2 separate regions of the Homo sapiens genome follow, and region 2 is linked to region 1. Evidence: promoter capture Hi-C in 16 types of primary human blood cells and fetal thymus (Javierre and others, 2016). All regions are on one chromosome and are shown on one strand. The core of a region is centred on a gene start or on the middle of the fragment in contact, and the rest is flanking DNA. Distances in the headings are between cores, read along the strand shown. Region 1 holds the start of RPTN (repetin). Region 2 has its middle 47 kb from the start of LCE5A.

Evidence for each region. Contacts are between HindIII fragments. The CHiCAGO score rates a contact against its expected background, and 5 or more counts as called.
Region 2: a contact is called between a fragment that was not itself captured here and the fragment with the promoter of RPTN in region 1, in 14 of 17 cell types (total CD4 T cells, M2 macrophages, M1 macrophages and 11 more). The highest score is 11.0, in total CD4 T cells.

What each region holds. Positions count from the first base shown.
Region 1 is chr1:152,157,759-152,165,364 of GRCh38, reverse strand. It overlaps RPTN (repetin), which reads left to right and starts at 6,137. Exons shown (of 3, transcript NM_001122965.1): 1 at 6,137-6,181; 2 at 7,456-7,606. The coding sequence starts at 7,476. The HindIII fragment of the contact is 1,857 bases long and covers 5,091-6,947 here.
Region 2 is chr1:152,460,710-152,467,286 of GRCh38, reverse strand. No RefSeq gene overlaps it. Among named protein-coding and RNA genes, the nearest start is that of LCE5A, 47 kb to the left of the region's middle. The HindIII fragment of the contact is 5,711 bases long and covers 2,015-6,577 here.

The DNA.
Region 1 (7,606 bases), core at 4,888-7,387:
AGAAGCCAGGGCTTCCAAGTCTCAATTCAAGGGATCTCTGGTGCACCAGGGTGAGGAAAGGCCAGGAAGGGCTACAAAGAAAATCAGCAGGAGACCTGACTGTTCTTGAAAGGGGAACAGGCAAATGCCTGAACATTGGCTTCCACATACCATCATCCCTAAATTCACCTCTTCCCTTCCTGATGGAATTGACCAGGGGAGGGGTGGCAGTGAGAGAACTGAAAACACTGATGGCACCCCAAAGGAATTGCTAAGAATCCCTAAAATACAATGGGAACATCACAGATTACAAAGCTATTTACCTATCTTCCCTACCCCATTTCCTCCACTCCCACTTTACCTCAAGACATATGCATTCCTTTAGTCAACAAACCTTTATCAGGTGCCTACTACTGTGGGTTTTCTGGCAGCTGCTGGATCATAAGGTTGTGCAAGACCTTTGGGAGATTCAGAGCCACAGTTCAACTCCACAGCCCTTGCCTCTGCCCAGCTGTGTCTTGGCCAGGCAGGTTTAGCCTGTTGGTATCCTCAAGTCAAGGCTTTTAAACCAACCACCCTGCTCCAGAAATTTCTTTTAAAAAAACTCAAAACAGTTTGGCAGTTCCTCAAAAAGTTAAACACGGAGTTACCATGTGACCCAACTCCACCCCTAGGTGCATGGCCTAGTTGCAGAGGACTAAAAACATACATCCGCACAAAAAGTTGTCCATGAATGTTCACAGCAGCATTATTCAAATAGCCAAAAGGAGGAAACAGCCCAAATGGCCACCAATGGATGAATGGATAAGCAAAATGTGACACATTGTCTATTCTTATAATGGACTATTATTCAGACTTAAAGGAAAAGAAGTGCTAAAACCTGCTTCAACATATATGAACCTTAAAAATATTATGTTATGTGAAATAAGCTAGTCCAAAAAAAGGCCACATATTATATGATTTCATTTGCATGAAATATCCAGAATAGGTAAATCCATAGAGACAGAAAACAGATTAGTGGCTGCCAGGGGCTGGAAGAGGGCAGAATGGCAGATTACTGCTAATGGGGACAGAATTTCTTACAGGGGGATCTTGGCAATGGCTGAACAATACTAGATAACATTGAATCGTACACTTTAAATGGGTGAATTGCATGGTATGTGAATTATATCTCAATAAAGCTCTTTAACAAAAAGTAAAAGAAGAAACTCAGAAACCTGACCTGAATGATCCAAATTCTGCCATGGTCAGCCACTTTGAAGATCTCAGATTTGGTCTGTAGCCTTATTAACCATGTGCTAGGAATTACCTAAAATTCCATGGGCTGTGTTAGCAGTGATTTCTGACATTTTCTAGTTCCTTTTATCGTGGGGAAGATAGGGCCTGTGATGTTGGGGAGAGGAGCAATGCTGGCTCTTGTATCCAAAAACAAAAGCCTACAGTAGAAGAAAAGGCTGGGCTGCAAGCTGGGGAGGGGGAGCACAGCTCCACGCTGAAACCTGTGCACTCAATCCCCAGGAAACCTAGGCTTCCTTCCTTCAGCTCAGAACACATTTTCTGACGGAGTAAAAATATCGCTGATATCAGCGTCACCTTCAGAAACCACTGACTCCCACAGATGTTATTAAAAGCGAAATGGCCTATAATTAACAGGGCAGTAATTCACCTACAAGAAAAGATTTTTAAATGGGAACTTATTTGTGCAGTTGATAATAAATTACCTTTCAATATCAAGAGATCTCAAAGAGTTTTATGTCTATTAATTAGTTGTGCTCCTCTCCAGGGGAAGGTGTTCATTTGCCCCATCTGCAGTTTATCCACCTGCTTAATGCCAAAGGGCTAATCAAGAAAAAAGTGCCTGCCCCAGCGTTACACAGGGGTCTTCCCTTATAATAAAATAGCCATCCTCTGGATCCTGTAGGATTCATCTCAATAGAAACCCAACATCTCAAAAGAAGGAAAAAGGAAGTCTGAGAGTTTCATGATAATTATCCTTAATGATTTGGCCAAAATATGACAAGGAGACTCCCTGAAAACTCTATTAGCTCAAAACAGTACCTGTCACACCCACTAGGCACATCTGCATCCTAAGAGAAATGGACAGCAAAGGCTTACAGTAGGATCAAGAACTGCAGGGAATGTGCAACAAGTGGAACTTCTTCAGTCTCATGTCAAACCAGTGCCCAGAGCTGTCAATTGTAAAGAGAGAAGGGTATTTTTTTTCTCCGTGGGTTTTGTTTCTGTAAATAGAAGCATCTGTCTTATCTCCCCAAATAGATTACAAAGTCCTTTAGTGTTGAAATCATCTAAGTTCTGGAGAAGCATAAGAAAATAATAAATATTTGACTGGTTAAGGGTCAGGAGATTCTCATTTCAAGGTCAGATTCCTTCACAGTATGTCATAAGGAAGTTACCCTGGTCTTACTCACTTCAGTCTATGTGGAAAGTTATTTCTCTCATTGGGGAGGGAGTAATCACCAGTCCTGTTCCAAAAGAGGCAACATAACATAGGGATTGCAAACAAGGGCTTTGGAATCAGGAAGACATGGGTTCAAGCCTCAGCTCAGCCAGTTGCAAGTTGTGTGACCTTGAGCAAGTTATTTATCCTTTTCTGAGCCCCAGTATCTTTGTTTGAAAAATGAAGACAATATTCTCTGCCTCATGGAGTTTTTGTGGGAATTAAACAAGATAATAAGTTTATAGATTTGGAATATTAGACCTTTGTCAGGTGCATAAGATGCAGCTGGAGGCCATTATCCTAGCAAATCAGTACAGGAGCAGAAAACCAAATACCACATATTCTCACATATAAGTGGGAGCTAAACATTGGGTACTCTGGAACATAATGATGACAACAATAGACACTGGGGACTACTAGAAGGGGGAAGAAGGGGAGAAACGATTGAAAAACTATTGGGTGCTATGCTCACTATCTGGGCAATGGGATTATTCATATCCCAAAGCTCAATGACAAGCAGTATACCCATGTAATAAACCTTCACATATACCCATGGAATATGAAATAAAAATTGAAATTATTTTTAAGGAGATAATATATATAAAATGCTTAATGCAGAGCCTAGCACACAATAAGATTTCAATAAATTGTAGCTTAAAAACATCTTGCCTTTGAGACCAAAGGTCACACTACAACATGACTGCATTTAAGCTGCAAAACACACTGAAAAATAATTTTTTAAAATAGTGTAGGTCCTCATGAAATTTATAAATGTTAATGAAGAAACAGGATACCCATAATTGACTTCTCCATTTTCCACAGAGAAAGACTGAGAAGCACAAATTCTGAGGCCTTTATCGAATATCTGAATAGAGCAATGTTTAAATATTACCTCTAAAGCCACTGTTAACCTTAAGATTGGCATGACAGAATCTCAGAATGCCAACACCAAAATAAAGCTCCAACCCTCTCCTTTTACAGATAAAGAAACAAAGGTCACATTTCATGATTCCTTCAAAGGTGTTTTATTTCAATCCCAGTGGCATTGAAAGTTCTTTAAGGACAAAGACTACATTTTATCTCAGTGCCCACAAAAGGGCGCCCTCTGTATGGTCACAAATACTAATTGATTAACTGATTGGCTGATCAACATAGTTCTCTGCCTATTCTATCGGAGTGTATTAAGTGTTAAATGAATGCACACATAGCGGATCCTACTCTTAAGAACATAATCTTTCTCTCACTGCAACATCAAACAAACAGAACTGCCTGTCTAACCAAAAGAAACAGTTGCTAGAGAGCCATGGAACACGCCAAGAGAAAGGGGACACAGCATTGTTGTTCTGTTTCCTGATGGCTATTGTCTTCAACCCCTGCCCATCCCACCCCTACTCCTCTTATTTGCCTCTGGGGACAACCAAATCTTCTCTAGGTCTTTTATTCTAACAGGTGAGAAGAGACATAACTGAAGAGCACTAAGTAGAGATGCAAAAGTATAAGGAGAACCTTAATGTGACCCAGCCCTCAGAATTTATGAATAGACTTAAGAAAGTCCTGACTTGTGCTGGGAGACCCCAAACAGCCAAGGATGCAAGCTGGAGGGATGATAACAAGACTACAAAAGGCAGAGACCCTGGGAAATGCCAATAGAAGCACTAGATCTTAGACCCAGCAGTCCCCCTTCAGAAGTTACATTTCTTCAGTGTACCATAGTTCTACTAGTTATCTAGACTTAAAGACTTGGAATCTCACCTAATGTTCCCACTTTCCCTGCCCCTCTTCTAATCTGTCCCCAGACCTCATCCCTTTATCCCTGCTATTATCCATCTACCTTCCTATAGTTTTGAACTACTGCGTCCAGGTCGAAGTCCTTGTCACTTCTCACCCATGCCATATAATAGACTCCTAACTGGTCTCACTGCCCAGTACTCCTCTGTCCAATTTATCTTGTACACCACAGTTTAGGGTGACCAACTCGGTCCAGATTGCCCAGAATTATCCCACTGAAAGTCTCATGTCCTGGGAAACTCCTTAGTGCCAGACAAACTGAGACATCTGACCAACTACAACAGAGCCATTAGATTCTTCCTCTAAATAATGCTTTGATTATGTCACTTTTCCTAGCCAAAACCCTACTTCTGCTTTCTCATTAAAATAAACCCTAAAGTAGGCCCCAAATCTGCCTCAGAGAATGTCTCAGAAAGCATATCGGTCTGGAGTGAGGAAACAAGTAAACCAGGCCTGGCTTTAGTCATAGCCCGTGAAACCCTTGGCAAATACAGTCAATCTAGCTGAACCTCAGTTTCCTCATCTGTAAAATTAAGAGGCTAGATTTCCCTTTCAGTTCCAAAATTTTCTAAGTCTACTCTTTTAAATCCCTCTGCTCTTTTAAATCCCTCTGCTCAACACAGACTTACCAGCTCACTCGAATCCAAACTCTCACCTTAGTACCTTTGATTCTTCCCTTCTCCCCACTCAGAAGTTCTTTGCTTTCTTCTCTGCCCACCTGAATCCTTTCAGGAACAACATGAAGCTCACCTCCTAAGGGACGTCCAGGCCCAGCCATGAGGACTCCACATGCGCCTAGGTTTCTAATACTCAGCACTTAGCATGTCCTATCCCTGGAGTTCAAAATATTTTTCTATGTGAAGCTTCTTTATTCCAACTAAACTAAAATCTTTCTGCACTGTTGTGATTCCCTTGTAGAATCCTGAACACATAGTAAGTAATAGTTAGTGTTATTAATAATAATGGATTGGCTGATGGATACATAGGAAAAAGTCCAAACAGGGATCTAGATGTGAGACAAACGTAGAAATACAGGTGAGTCTACAGCTTTTTGCACCTTACATACAATTCTTCAGTGCTTCCATAATCCAATAATTCCTTTACCCCAAAAATATTCACTAAGAATTTCCCATGCTCAAGACACTGTGCTGGCATCCAAGGGCACGGAGATGGGAAGTGAACAGAAGCTGGGGTCTCTAGCAGCATTTCTCTCTCACAGATATCATAAACTTCCATGATGTCCCTCAATTCAAACTTTTTAGTAGTAAGTCTTAGAAGGCTTAAGTGGTAGAAGTTGCACCATTGGAGCCCCTCATCCCCAAAACTGACCATGTATCTACTTCTCCCAACTAGCCTGTGGAGCTGTTAAATGAAAAAATAATAGTAATTCAAAATAAGTTAATAGGTTAATAGCCAAATATCTACCAGCACAAGAAAAAGGTTAGTCTAAAAGAAACCTCTTCCAGGAACTATATTCTGGCCAAATAAATAGAATCTCTAGTTCCAACTTTGACATATGTTTGTAAGTGACCACATAGATAGCATTCTTCAGTATGAGCTGACTGTTGCCCTCTATTAGTATTGGCAAGTGACATATATTAAGGATGAACTCAGCCAACACCTCTGTCTTTTGGGACCCTCACAGCACAAATACATACACATACACACACATTCTCTTAATTAAATGGGACTGGGACTTAAACAGCGTCACCTACTGTAGTGACAAACAGGTTCATGAGCAAGTGGGGGAAGTAAATAAACCAAACAGTTTGCAGAGGGAGAGGTCAAGCTGGGCTGAGCTGGGCTGGGACCAGAGTGATTCAGGCTTTGCCACAGAATGGGTGTCTCCTGGGATGGCCTGGTAGGATAATTAAAACCCCTATAAATAGGATGAGTTTTTAGGTCCCCAGTATCCTCTCTGACTCCTGAATCTTCTGCTCCTTCCTCCTCAAGCAGGTAAGACATGCATAGGGGAGCATTGGTAGTATCTACAAGGCTCTCAAGAGCCCTATAATGCACCAGGCTGGGGAGGTCTGAGACTTAATTCCTGTGGGTAACAGCTTTGGTTACCTTCTGCTTCCTTTTTCTGGCTCTATCTGAGAATATGACAATAGCTGGGGTGGACTACTTCTGTGTCTGTAAAATGCAAATGCCTTCACTTCAATGTGTCCTAGGCATCCCAAAACTGAGGGCTAGAACAATTGATGAATAGCTTAGTCTCCCATAGTGGAGCATTTACTTTTTGTGCAAGTTAGGAAAGACCGAATAGTTTAGGGCCAAGGCTCTGGACCATGGGCCCAGCAATGCTCAAGTCTCATTGCATTGAATTACAACAAGGGACTCAGCTTGTCCCATGTGATCCATTATTTGTCACTTATTTTCTTATAGACATCACTGTTTGTATGCTTTTGGCAATTCAACATGCTCTGCAGATAGGGCTTCAGTTTGGAGGCCTATAAACCCACTAACTGGAATTTTCATTCCACAAGAAAAAAAATGTAATTGAGATTTAGATCCCAAAAGACCCAAGTCTCCCAGCATGGCCAATGTGGACCTAACTGATTATATATACCTCCTATAATCTGTGCCCTTAATTTGGCTATGTACCCACTTGCTATTTTTATCTGTAACAGCTTTTATATTCATTGATTTCATTTTATAAGCATGTCCCAAAACCATCCAGGCCAGAAGCATTTGCTGGAATTTAGCCTCCCAGAAAGCTTCCTTAGACCGTGAAGAGAGACTTTCAGCCTTCTTCCTTGCTTAAGAAAGGCTCATTACAAGACTGAAACCTGTTCAGTGGGATCTATTTAGTGCCCCCTCCAGTTTGCTAGTTGTTAGTCGAAAATTATGCCCTACTATGCTGGCTTCTATTCCTGCCTCTATTGGGCTTCCTGGCCTCCCCTCCTTTTGTTCTAATATGAGATTTTCAATCAGGTGAATCCTGTCTGGAGTAGAGGATGGGATATGTAAAACACCTGCAATGCATTTTTTGTTTTTTAAGAAATTGTCTCTTTTTATAGCAAGGGAACCAAGTTTGCACCATCTCCCACTATAGCAATGAGATTTGGTCCCCGACTGTGAGTCAGGGCAAGGAAGGGGTACAGCTAAGAAGGGGCTCTCTCACTTCTTAAACTTTCTCCCAGATCCAGAGGGGTCACTTTCCCTCTGGAAATGCTGTCTCGTGGTCATTATCCTAACGGCAGGAGAAATCTTGTTTCTTCTTTTAGGTTCACCCGTACTTGTCAAAATGGCTCAACTCCTGAATAGCATACTCAGTGTGATTGACGTATTCCACAAATATGCCAAAGGGAATGGGGACTGTGCCTTACTATGCAAGGAAGAGTTGAAACAACTGCTCTTGGCTGAGTTTGGAGACAT
Region 2 (6,577 bases), core at 3,621-6,120, 300 kb before region 1:
ACAGATTCAAAAATTTAAACCAACTTTAAGCATGATACATGTAGAGAAGGCCACATCTAAAGAAATTATAGAGATTTATAGAAAGCCAAAGCATAGGAATAATCTCAAAAGGAGTCAGAAAGAAAAAATATATATTATTTTAAAAAGGGCATCAATAAGAATTGTGGTTAACTTTTTAAATAGAATGTATAGAATCTAGAATATAATGAAATCGCATATTCAAAGTGGTAGGGCAAAACTACAGATAATTCTTTGTCTTGTGAAAAGGTCTTTCTAAAAACAAATTACTTTTTTACAATAATATTTTTATGATGATTTTTACAAAAGTATTTTTACAATAATATTTTTAGAAAAAGAAAAACAACATCATGAAAAAGATGAAATAATTCACCTTCAGTGAACTTGTACTACAAGAATTCATTCAGATTAAGGAAAATGATCCCAGATAAAAGCATGAAATTGCAGAAAACTACAAAAATCACTTTTAAAAGGTAGATATTTGAGATTTTATAAGTGAATACTGACTGTTTAAAACAACAAAAAATATTGGAATTTATAATATATGTCAAACTAAAATTTATAATAATAGCAAAAGGCAAAGAAAGTTAAGGTTCTTGCATTGTTTGAGAAGTAGTAAAAATATTAATTTAAAATGAACTATAAAAATTGTAAAGAACATTTTAATTTCTAGGATACCTTAAAATAATAATAAAGAAAAATATACTTAAAAAGCTAACAGAAGAGAAATGAAATAATTTAAAAATTGATCCAAAATAGACTAAAATTATTAAAGAAATGAAACAAAGAAAAAGTAGAAATGGCAAACGTAAACCTAGCTATATCAGTAATTACATTAAATGTGAATGGTCTAAATACTACAATCAAAAGACAAAGAGTATTAGACTTGATTTTTTTAAATCAATTTTATGTTGTTTATAGGAAACACCTGTCATACATAAAGACACAGAATGGTGCAAATTTTAAAAATGGTAGAAAATATACTTTGTGAAAACAAATTACAGTAAGCAAAAATTGTCAGAACTAAAGGGAGAGATAGAGAACTCCATAATTATATTGAAGATAGTAACATCTGTCTCTCTCTCAGTAATTAATTAGAACAAGCAGTAAAGTTGAGGAGGATAAATCAACCTGACATAATGGGCATACATAGAGCAAACATCAACTATCAGAATACACATTCTTTTCAAATGTACTTTGAACATTGACCAAAATAAACTGTCTTGGATCATAAATCATGTCTTAAAATTTTCAGAGATCTGAAATCATATGTTCTCTGACCACTGTGAAATTATGTCAGGACTCACTAACTGAAAGATAACTAGAAAATCTCCAAATGTGTGGAAATTAAGCCACATGTTTTTAAATGACCCATCAGTCGAAGAAATAAATCACATAGCAAAGTAGGAAACATTTTGGGCTGACTTATAATAAAATATTCTGCATCAAAACTTTCAATGCTGCTAAATCAGTTCTTAGAGAAAATCTTGTACTTTAAGGTAAATATTAGAAAAAAGAAATGTGGGCAAAGATCTAAATTTTTTCTCAAAATACTGGAAAAAGAATGGCCAACTAACCTCTTCCTGAAATTTTAAATAATAAATAAATAATAAAGAGAGGAAATCAATGAAATAGAACACAGGCACACAATAGAGAAAATCAACAAAGTCAAAAGTTACTCTTTTCAAAAATTTTTTTAGAAAGGATTAAAATGAGTAAAGTTAAAAATTAAAAATTAATAAAATTGGGCAAGAAAATAAAAGCAAAAGTGAAAATTATGGATATCAGGAAGAAAAAGAGGGAATCACTACTGATTATACATTATTATGAACAACATTATGCCAATAAAATAGAAAATTCCGATGAAAAGGATATTCTTTAAAAAACAGCTCGCTAACACTGACCTAAGAAGAAATGTAAAATTTCAATATTAAAATAATTTAAATGTTTCCTTAAAAAGACTTTCAAATGCAAAAAAATGCCAAGCCCAGAAGCTTCACCGGTAAATTCTTCTCCTCTATTAAGGAAGAAACAATACCAATCTTATGTAAATTCTCCAAAGAAAAGAAATAGGTATTTGGGATCTAATTAAACTAAAGAGCTTCTGCACAGCAAAAGAAACTACCATCAGAATGAACAGGCAACCTACAAAATGGGAGAAAATTTTTACAACTTACTCAACTGACAAAGGGCTAATATCCAGAATCTACAGTGAACTCACACAAATTTACAAGAAAAAAACAAACAACCCCATCAAAAAGTGGGTGAAGGACATGAACAGACACTTCTCAAAAGAAGACATTTATGCAGCCAAAAAACACATGAAAAAATGCTCACCATCACAGGCCATCAGAGAAATGCAAATCAAAACCACAATGAGATACCACCTCACACCAGTTAGAATGGAAATCATTAAAAAGTCAGGAAACAACAGGTGCTGGAGAGGACGTGGAGAAATGGGAACACTTTTACACTGTTGGTGGGACTGTAAACTAGTTCAACCATTGTGGAAGTCAGTGTGGCGATTCCTCAGGGATCTAGAACTAGAAATACCATTTGACCCAGCCATCCCATTACTGGGTATATACCCAAAGGACTATAAATCATGCTGCTATAAAGACACATGCACACGTATGTTTATTACCGCATTATTCACAATAGCAAAGACTTGGAACCAACCCAAATGTCCAACAATGATAGACTGGATTAAGAAAATGTGGCACATATACACCATGGAATACTATGCAGCCATAAAAAATGATGAGTTCATGTCCTTTGTAGGGACATGGATGAAATTGGAAATCATCATTCTCAGTAAACTATCGCAAGAACAAAAAACCAAACACCGCATATTCTCACTCATAGGTGGAAATTGAACAATGAGAACACATGGACACAGGAAGGGGAACATCATACTCTGGGGACTGTGGTGGGGGGGGAGGGGAGAGGGATAGCATTGGGAGATATACCTAATGCTAGATGATGAGTTAGTGGGTGCAGCGCACCAGCATGGCACATGTATACATATGTAACTAACCTGCACATTGTGCACATGTACCCTAAAACTTAAAGTATAATAATAATAAAATAAAATAAAATAGGTATTTGACAAGGAGTATCTAATGGCCATATCTTTGTTGCCACATCACACCATGGACTACCAGTGCCCTCTTTACCACTGAAAATAGTCATCAGTGCCTTTAAATCCAATTAGATTAGATAATTGCAGAAAACCCAGAATTAGTTCAGAAAACTCATTTTTCTGTTCCTCTACACTCTACCTCTGAGTATGAAAATCTCTGTCAGTCAGAGTTGCACTAGAAGAATACCAGAACCAGTACGTGTGTGTGTGTGTGTGTGTGAGAGAGAGAGAGAGAGTGTGTGTGTGTGTGAGAGAGAGAGAGAGAGTGTGTGTGTGTGTGTGTGTGTGTGTGTGTAGGAAAGGGGGTGGAGGAGAGGGAAAGAAAGAGAAAGTGATTGCAAGGAACTGGCTTATAGGATTGTGGATGCTGGATAGGCAAGTCTGAAATCCATAGAGCAATTTCGTTTACTTAAAGTGAACTGATTACAAATATTAATCACATCTTTAAAATACATTTACAACAAAACCTAGATTAGTGTTTGGTTGAATAACATATAACTGATCAACAAATAGAGTTTATTTTAGAAACAGTTTCAAACCTCTTTCAAATTTGAAAGGCAATTAATGATTAATTAACATTAATAAAGTAAAGGAGAAATATAATATGGTCATCACAATAGAAATAGAAAATAATAATAAAAGATATTCAGATTAGAAAAAATAAAACTTATTATTCTCAGATGACATGATTGTGTTCGTGTAAAATCAAAAATAATGTACAAAACAACTAAAATTATAACTAAACTTAACAAGGATGATAGATAAAAGTCAATTTACAATAAATCAATTGTATTTTGATTTATTAGCAACCATCAAATAAGAAATAAAAATTTTAAGATATCATTTATTATAGCACCCACAAACATCAAACAAACAGAAATAAATCTGTTAGAAAATGTGCAACTTCTCTAGGCTGAAAACTATAAAATAGTACTGAGAGAAATGAAAGAAGTCCTAAATAAATGAAAAAATATTCAATATTTATGAGTTAGAAATTTGATATTGTAACATGTCAATTATCTTCACTTTTTTGTATAGAGTTAAAGAAATTCTCATCCCAGCAGGGTTTTTTAAATAAAATTGACAGGCAAATTCTAAAACGTGTATGAAAATGCAAAGAATTGGTCGGGCGTGTTGGCTCTGCCAGCACTTTGGTGGATCACCCGAGGTCAGGTGTTCGAGACCGGCCAGCCTGACCAACATGGTGAAACCCCTTCTCTACTAAAAATACAAAATTAGGGCCGGGCGCGATGGCTCGCGCCTTTAATCCCAGCGCTTTGGGAGGTCGAGGCGGGCGGTCACGAGGTCAGGAGTTCGAGACCAGCCTGACCAACATGGTGAAACCCTGTCTCTACTAAAAATACAAAATTAGGGCCGGGCGTGATGGAGCGCGCCTGTAATGCCAGCTAATCAGGAGGCTGAGGCAGGAGAATCGCTTGAACCCGAGAGGCAGAAGTAGCAGTGAGCGGAGATCGCGCCACTGCACTCCAGCGTGGGCGACAGAGTGGGACTCCGCCTAAAAAAAATTAATAAATATATACAAAATTAGCCAGGCGTGGTGGCGCATGCCTGTAATCCCAGCTACTTGGTAAACTGAGGCAGGAGAATCGCTTGAACCTGGCAGGCGGAGGTTGCAGTGAGCCAAGATCGCGCCATTGAACTCCAGCCTGGGCAACAAGAGTGAAACTCAAAAAAAAAAAAAAAAAAAAAGGAAGGAAGGAAGGAGCAAAGAGAATAGCCCAGCCAGCCAATATTTTAAAAAGGGATAAATTTGCGAGATTTATACCGCCCGATATCAAAATTTGTTATAACATTGCAGTAACTACGACTGCGGTATTAGTTTGAAAGTAGAACAATAGAACAAAATAAGAAGTCAAAAACGTTCCCATACATATACGGCCAACTAAGTTATGACAAAACTCCACTGCAATGTAGTAGGGGAAAAAAAAATGGTAGGAAATGATTCTGGGTCATTTGAATATCCATGTGGGGAAATAAATGAACCTTGACCCCTACCTCAATCCATACAAAAATATTTGTAAGAAATGGATCATAGACCTAAATGTGAGGGTTAAAATAATCCAGCTTCTAAATTAAAACAGAAGAAAATATACTGGGTAGACAAAGATTTCCTAAACAGGACATAAAAAGTACTATTTTATAAAAGAAAAATTATTTTATATTTTATAAAAGAAAAAACTGATAAATTGAAATCCTTAAAATTAAAAACTTTTAGTTCTTGAAAGACATTGAAAAGAGAGCGTGTAGGGAAGCAATAGGAAGATTTTGTGTCATATCTATCTGTATCTATGGCTACAGTTGTGTAACTTCTTTTATTTTTAATTCGCTGATTCCCCACGAGAGGGCGCCTTTCCACAAGTCCTTATTTAGCACAGCACTGATGGCCATAGACAATGCTCGAGCCTGGCTTTCTAGCACATCTCCATTTCCCAACACAGAGGCTAAGCCCTTTGTGGGAGGCACACATGTAGTCAGACAATCCTGGTAATATGTGATACGTTTGGGGAAAAATTTTTTTTAACAGTGACTTAAGACCTGGTAAGGTATCTGTGTGGCCAGATTAAAGGATAAGAGTGAGTTAGTAAAACCTAAAATGAACTGGGCGTGGTGGCTCACGCCTGTAATCCCAGCACTTTGGGAGGCCGAGACGGGCGGATTACGAGGTCAGGAGATTGAGACCATCCTGGCTAACACGGTGAAACCCCGTCTCTACTAAAAATACAAAAATATTAGCCGGGCGTAGTGGCGGGAGCCTGTAGTCCCAGCTACTTGGGAGGCTGAGGCAGGAGAATGGCGTGAACCTGGGAGGCGGAGCTTGCAGTGAGCCGAGATAGCGCCACTGCACTCCAGCCTGGGCGACAGAGCGAGACTCCGTCTCAAAAAATAATAATAATAATAAATAAAATAAACCTAAAATACAGGCAGTTCGTCTCTTTTTAGAAGTCAAAACCTTAACATCTGGGAGTGTCCGTATGAATTTTGGCCCCTAAAAATCTTAAAAAGGGATGTTTTTGAGTTGCCAGCATCAATACTTAGTATAAAAAGTTTATAAGTGCAATAACTCTTTGGAACTCTATCACCAAAGGAGGACATTCTTCTTCTATTTAGATGTCACACATCTCCACAAACCGAAATGCAGTCTGTTTCCTATTTATTGTTATATGTTGCCTGCATTCTTTCTTTCAACAGTTATTGAACACCTTGCTGTGTCCTAGGACCTGTGCACATCTTCTGGGATCTGCCATAATTTAATGCTAATTCTCTGTCCCCCTCTGGGAGAAGACAAACACATTAGCCACATGGTGATTAGATGTAGTTCAAGGTGTCTTAGGGTCTCTGAGGACTGGGGAGTTTGGAGAGTGTAAGGGATGGATCTTGGAAGTAGGTGATTTTTGA